2 separate regions of the Homo sapiens genome follow, and region 2 is linked to region 1. The links are contacts of gene promoters, found by promoter capture Hi-C in human tissues and cell types (Jung and others, 2019). All regions are on one chromosome and are shown on one strand. Each heading gives the region's core, a stretch centred on a gene start or on the middle of the fragment in contact. The rest is flanking DNA. Distances are from core to core; before and after follow the strand shown. Region 1 holds the start of MCMDC2 (minichromosome maintenance domain containing 2). Region 2 overlaps MCMDC2 (minichromosome maintenance domain containing 2).

Region 1 (3,715 bases), core at 668-3,167:
CCGCACCCGGCCTCATTACCAAATATTTATTTGGCACCTACTATAGGTTGGATACTAGATTGTCCTAGGCACTTAAGGATACTAAGATGAGTAAAATATTGTCCCTATCCTTCAGAAAGAGTGCAGTGAGAGAAGACATATATGTAAACAGTTACATGGCAATTTAAGTGCTGTAATAGAAATATGAATATACCAGGTAGCATGAAAGGAACAACATATATGAAATATTTCACAAAATTTGGGGTCATCCTTGTATATGGGTCATAACATTTTCCATTATTTTAAGACATTTTCATTGAAGATGGTGGGGTCATAGGGAAGAAGGTATGAATTCTACTTTAAGGTGACATTTGATAGACGACTATTTCACTAATTGGAGGAGAGGTGAAGAGAAAGAGAAAGTGTTCCAGAGATGGAGGTCACCTTCCACCCTCATTATCAGTTTTACACTACTGGATCCACACACCCACTACGTGGAGTTCAGGCTACTTTCCAAAGAAAACCAATTAAGACTGTCCTTTTTGCTACAACATAAAAGTGAAACTTTAGCGTTTATTTCTCCGTGGCCATAAGGACAATGATCTCAAAATGTGTGTTGTGTTCAGAACATCACATCTTTGCTGCACTAGAACATTAGGTTTCTGGGGTGGAATGAAGGGCGACTATTGGTAATTAAATGGTTGGGTGAGGCCAGATTATGTACGCTTTTGAAGATTATATAGGCAAAGGGAAGCCATCAAAGTTTTTTTAAGGGGGTTAGTATTATAGTCAGATTTTTTTTTTTTTTGAGACAGGGTCTCACTATGTTGCCCAGGTTGGAGTTGCAGTGGCGTGATCTCGGCTTGCTGCAGCCTCTACCTCCCGGGCTCAAGCTATCCTCCCTTCTCAGCCTGGGACTATAGGCACGTGCCACCACATCCAGATAATTTTTAATTTTTTTGTAGAGACGGAGTTTTACTGTGTTGCCCAGGCTGGTCTCCAACTCTTGGGTAGCTGTCTCATCCTCCCAAAGTGCTGGGATTACAGGTATGAGCCACTACGCCTAGCCCATAGTCAGATTTTTATTTTGGAAACCTGTGCCTGCTGCCAATGTGGAAAGTAGGTTGGAATAGCGGGAGAGCTGATAATCAGTTTCTACCTATTGGGATATTCCTACAAGTTGGATGGCCTGATCCAGGGCATTAGGAACGAAATGGAATGGAGGAGATCGATTCTAGAATTTTAAAGATTGCACACTGGACCTGGTGATCAGTCTACAATACGCAGAAGAGTAATCGAAAGCTAAGTGGGGTTTTAATATGGGTATGGGTGGATGCTGCTGCTCTAATGGAAATACAGAGCCCAAGGAGAAGTGTTAAGGACATGAGGAAAAGTTCCCTTGAGATATCCTGACTTTGAGGACTCTTGGGATTCCCTGATAGATGTAAGCAGGAGGGGGCCATAAATCAGGGCCTGGAGTTCGGTGGCATCAAAAGAGTTAGAGCTAAGTCTGGGTGTCACTGCGTAAAGCGGAGGCCCTGGGGAGTGGACGCGTTTTCACGGAGGCATATTAAGTCGGGAAAAGACATAGAAGCCTGTGGAAAAGCGTTAAGTGAGGGAACAGGGATAAAATTCTAACTCCCTGTCTTCCCTTAGTCTAACGAACGCCGAGTGTTGCTGCACGTGGAACAGGCGCGGATTCTGTCTTCTCTCCGTGCCCTGTCAGCACCGGGGATGAACTGGTGAGGGGAAGACTGCAGGAAAACACTTCACAACCAAAGCGGATGAAAGCGAGTCCAGACTCATGAGGACCCCTCCCACTGACAGCGGTGACCTCGAGTTAGTGGGACCCCAGCGCTGTAGTGCTTTGCACTCACCTTGACTCCCACCAAGCTTGGCGGTTGCTCTCCGCCTGCAGCGTAGGCGGAGCGGAGTCCTAGCGCGCATGCGCGCACGTCCCGGCCGTTGGCTGCGTCGCGGGGCCTGCCGGGACCGCCCGCGCCCTCGGGTCAGCAGGGGAACTAGCCGGGCTTGTTCCCTTACGTTTTAATAGCTTCACTCTTGCTCCCTCCCAGCGAAGCAGAGAAAAAATAGGTCTACGTTTGGTTTTTGTTGTTATCTCAGGCAAATGATGTTATGTTTAAAAAATTCAAAACGCTGCTTCAGGGAATGCAAAATGTCTAGTCACTTTAGAAGACATTCCAGTATTCCCTCGAAGGACTCAACATAAAGTTACCCTATGATCCAGTAATTCCACTCTTAGGTATTTATAAATACACCCAAGAGAATTGAAAACATATGTTCACACAGAGACTTCTACACGAATGTTCATAGTATTATTCATAGTAGCCCCAAAGTGGAAACAATATGAATGCCCATCACCGATTAATGGATAACTGTGGTGTAAGCCATACAATGGAATGGTTTTGGCCATAAAACGTGATGAGGCACTAATACATGCTACAACATGGATGAACCTGGCAAACACTATGTAAGAAGCCAGACACAAAAGGCCATATGTTGTGTAATTTTGTTTATATGAAATGTCCAGAATAGGCGAATCCATAAGGAAAGAAAGCAGATTTGTGGTTGCCCAGAGGTTGGTTGAGAATGCAGAATGATTGCTAATGCGTATGGGATTTCTTGTTCTTTTTAAATTGTGGTAAAATATACATAAAATATACAATTTTAACCATCCTAAAGTGTAGTTACACTACCTACGTTCACACTGTGCACTCATCACCACTATCTGTAGAACTGTTTTCATTTTCCCAAACTGAAACTCCATACACATTAAACAACTCCCCATTCTTCTCTTCCTCATCCCCTGGCAACCATCAGTCTTTGCTTCCTTGAATTCGACTACTCCAGGTACCTCATGTAAATAGAATCAAACAGTATTTGTCCATTTGTGATGGGCTTATTTCACTTTGCCAAACATCTTCCAGTTTCATCCATGTTGTAACATGTTAGAGTTTCCTTCCTTTTTAAGGCTGAATAATATTCCACTGTGTGTGTACCATATTTTTTGTTGTTCATGAATTCACACAGGTTTTCTTTTAGAAGTGATGGAAATGATCTAAAATTGATTGTGGTGATAGTCACACAACTCTGAATCTACTGAAAGCCAGTTGATTGTACATTTTAAATAGTTGAATTGTACAGTACTTGAATTAAATCTTATTGAGGTTGGCCGGGTGCGGTGGTTCACGCCTATAATCCCAGCACTTTGGGAGGCCAAGGCGGGTGGGTCACTTGAAGTCGGGAGTGGACACCAGCCTGGACAACATGGTGAAACCCCATCTCTACTAAAAATACAAAAATTAGCCAGGTGTGGTGGCGCGCGCCTGTAATTCCAGCTACTCTGGATTAATACTATTAGCAGACAGGATAATCACTTGAACCCAGGAGGCAGAAGTTGCAGTGAGCAGATATCGCACCATTGCACTCCAACCTGGGCGATAGAGCGAGACCCTGTCTCCAAAAAAAAAAAAAAAGAAACTGTTACCAAAAAACCCCAAACCCTTAAATTGTACCTGCTTCTCCACCATTAGTATTTCCTTTTTTTTTTTTTTAAGACAAGGTCTACCTGTGTCCCAGGACACAGTGGCCCAATCAGGGCTCATTGCAGTCTCAATCTCCTGGCTCAAGTGATCCTCTCACCTCAGGCTCCCAAGTAGCTAAGACTTCAACTATGCCTGGCAAACTTGTAAATTTTTTTTCGTAGAGACAGGGG
Region 2 (3,715 bases), core at 392-2,891, 49 kb before region 1:
GCATCAGTACACTACAGCTTGGGTGACAGCTACATATAAATATGTATATATAAATATAGATAAGTAAATAAAAGCCATCTTTGTGCCATGCATGGTGGCTCACTCCTGTAATCCCAACACTGGGAAGCTGAGGTACTGAGATGGGAGGATGACTTGAGACCAGCCTGGGAAACATGGCAAAATTCCATCTCTACAAAAAATGCAGAAGTTATCCCAGGGTGGTAGCATGTCCCTGTAGTCCCAGCTACTCGGAGGCCTAAGGTGGGAGAATTACTTGCAAGGTCAAGGCTGCAGGGAGCTGAGGTGGCGCCACAACCCTCCAAACGGTGACAGCCCCTGTCTCCAAAAAAAAAAGTTTTTAAACTTTCCAATTGTAAAAGGATCCTAGTTTTATAAAATAGGAATGTGTTTTGCCTTCCCCCCATAGAGAGCCAGACATGTTTGAAATGTAGTATTTGAGAAGCACAAAATAAACGTCTTAACATTATAGAACTGTAATATGTAAGTATTTTGTTGAAAACTACAGTCGCCAGTCGTGTTGGCTCATACCTGTTGTCTTAGCACTTTGGGAGACTGAGGCAGGCAGATCACCTGAGGTCGGGAGTTCAAGACCAGCCTGGCCAACATGGTGAAACCCTGTCTCTACTAAAAATACAAAAATTAGCCAGTCATGGTGGAGTGCACCTGTAATCCCAGCAGGAGAATCACTTGAACCCGGGAGGTGGAGGTTGCAGTGCCAAGATAACACCACTGCACTCCAGCCTGCATGACAGAGCGAGACCCCATCTCAAAAAAACAAAAAACAAAAACACTACCTTTGGCTTCTGAAAACTAATACTGTTTACTCCCTGCTACTAGTAGGTATTCAGTAATAGTGAACAACTTCCTCCGGGTCCTGTGGAGAGTGGGAGAGGTCCAGCTGTACAGTTAAGCATCTCTGTTAAGGGACCAGTTTTGAAAGAATTGATGCATGGTAACATCTTGGTTAATAAAGTGGCAATTTGGTAATGACATTTTGCTTTTCTGTGAATAGAACTGATCTTTTATTAAAGTTATGGAAACTGAACTAAAAAGGATTTATAAATTTTACAAGATGGATTTGTTTTCTCATGGTGCCCCTATCTTTTCAGAGCAGATATCTTCCCTCCAAAAATGAGGACTAGATTTGCAAGTTGGTTTCTTTGCCTTTTGGAGCCTTTCTTGTAACCAGTTAGGGTTAGAGAGCCAATTTATAAGTTATTGGCTCCTTGTTTCCGTGTAAAGTATTTTTTTCATTTAACCTAGCGTATACGTATGGAAAACTTCCAAGGCTTTTCCCGATTCCATATTTAGGGCTTCTAAAACAGTAGTATGTAATGGACAGGCCAGTAATAAAGTATGAAAAGGCCTTACATTTGAAGCTTCGGGTTATATAAAGTATTTACTCATCAGTTTAGCAAGTTCACAAGTGGAAGAAAAATGTTTTAGAGTAATTTGTAGGTAAAGAGTTATTGCCATCTTGTGACAGTAGAGTGAACTACATAAAGGTTGCCATTTTACACACTGCTCAAATTGCAACATTTACATTTTTATCTGTTCACCACTGGTATTCTGGGCTAACCAGGTTTTTCTTTATAGTATTCTCCTTGACAACTTTATCACTTTAAATTGTCCACATTGTTCTAAGTTTTAAAATTCTGTTGGTTTTAGAGGTTTGGATTAGTATTTATCCCATTAGCAATTAGTTTTGAGGGGACTATATTTTATATTTTTAAAAACAGTATTGTAATATATTCCTGTACAGAGTATTATCAAAGCATTACTTCAAAGTCACTCTCAAAATAGTCACACTTTTTCTCCACTGCTTAAGTAGGAATGAACAAAAATTCCTCAAATTGCTTATTCATCACTAGAGAAAATAGTTGTCCCAGGTCCATATGTGGCAATAAATTGTTCCAGCTGTTGTTGGCACTGAGTCAGATAGAGATCCCTTTGCTCTAAGTATTCTTCATTATACAGTTCAAATGGAAATACTGCATTCGGAGCAACACAAAATACAGTGGCCCCTAAATGAAGAAGATAATAGAGTGTAAATGACAAATACTCCTTAAAATGACAAGTATGAAATCACATTTTCAACCAAAATATTTTAATGGAATCTTAAAAATTAAGTCTGAGCCCATGTGGTTCTGTGAAAAATAAAAGTCAAAAAATTAAGTTCTGACCTATTCAGTAGAGTATTTCAATAATCATTATTGAAATCTGACTCTTGTTTTCTGAAACCCAGAAAGCAGGTTCAGTAAGTGCACACGCATTGGTACCAGGGCCAATGGAAGAAGTATGTTGATGTTTATATTTTAAAGTTTGGAACTAGAAACTTGCCTTCTACTGAAATAGTCATTATAGTTTTGAAGCTGATGAGTGATGTGAGGAGGTGACAGGAGTAGGGAGAAAAGGTACTGGAAGGTAAGAAATACTAATCTTTATTTGATAACGGCTAAGTGGACGATCAAAGATAAAGACATTGTAGTACATTTCTCAGTTGTTAAAACCATTCACATAAAGGCAGACAACATAAATCTATGGAAGGGTTTCAAGACCATTCTAGGGGAAAGGACAGATTCACTTTGGATTTGGCCATGATTTCCTGAATGTGACATCAAAAGTACAGGCACCAAAAGAAAATACACATAAATGGGACCATATCAAAATTTAAAACTGCATAAAACAATACAATCAACAGTGAAAAGGCAACCTATGGAATGGGAGAAAATACTTGCAAATCAAATCTCTGATAAAGGGGTCTATAAATCTACAGTAAGAAAATAATCATTAAAAAATAGGCGGAGAACTAATATCGTTTCTCTAAAGAAAAACAAATGACCAATAAGCACATGAGAAAGATGTTCAACATCACTAATCACTAGGAAAATACAAATCAAAACTACAATGAGCTACTACCTCACACCTATAAGGATTTATTATAAAAATAAAAAACAAAATGACAAGTGTTAGAGAGGATGTGGAGAAATTAGAAGCTTTGTGCACTGTTGGGAATGGAAAATGGTGCACCCACTGTGGAAAACAGGATGGCGGTTCATCAAAAAGAGTAAACAATTACTGTATGATACAGCACTTTCACTTCTGGGTATATACCCAAAAGAACTGAAAGCAGGATCTTAAAGAGATATTAGCACACCCACGTTCATAGCAGTGTAATTCACAATAGACAAAGGTGGAAGCAACAGAAATGTCCATTGACAGGTGAATGGATAAACGAAACATTCTATTTACATACAAAAGGATGTTATTCAGCCTTAAAAAGGAAGGAAATTCTAATACATGCATAATATGGATGAACCTTGAGAACATTATGCTAAGTGAAATAAGCCAGTTATGAAAGGACAAATGTATGATTCCACTTATATGAGGTACCTAGAATAGTCAAATTCATAGAGGCAGTAGAGTGATGGCTCCCAGGAGGAGTAGAGGAGGAAACGAGGAATTACTGTTTAATGGGTACGCAGTTTCAGTTTGGGAAGATGAAAAAGCTCTGGCGACGAAGGGTGGTGATGGTTGCCCAACAGTGTGAATGTGAATGTACTAAACACACTGAACTGAACATTTTAAAATGGTTAAAATAAGTAGATTTTATATTTTACTTCAATTTAAAAATTGACCATGAGGAGGTAAGCTCTTCTCTTTTATTCATTAATTCATTGAACAAGTACTTAAT

Evidence for each region. Contacts are between HindIII fragments. The study calls those that stand out against the background at their distance.
Region 2: a contact is called between a fragment that was not itself captured here and the fragment with the promoter of MCMDC2 in region 1, in 1 of the 25 tissues and cell types used here (hippocampus).

Annotation. Positions count from the first base shown.
Region 1 is chr8:66,868,973-66,872,687 of GRCh38, reverse strand. MCMDC2 (minichromosome maintenance domain containing 2) reads right to left here and starts at 1,917. Exons shown (of 15, transcript NM_173518.5): 1 at 1,857-1,917. RefSeq lists an enhancer at 1,631-1,700. The HindIII fragment of the contact is 9,372 bases long and covers 1-3,715 here.
Region 2 is chr8:66,917,333-66,921,047 of GRCh38, reverse strand. It overlaps MCMDC2 (minichromosome maintenance domain containing 2), which reads right to left. Exons shown (of 15, transcript NM_173518.5): 15 at 1-2,045. The coding sequence ends at 1,879. Among named protein-coding and RNA genes, the nearest start is that of SNORD87, 3.4 kb to the left of the region's middle. The HindIII fragment of the contact is 4,437 bases long and covers 1-3,715 here.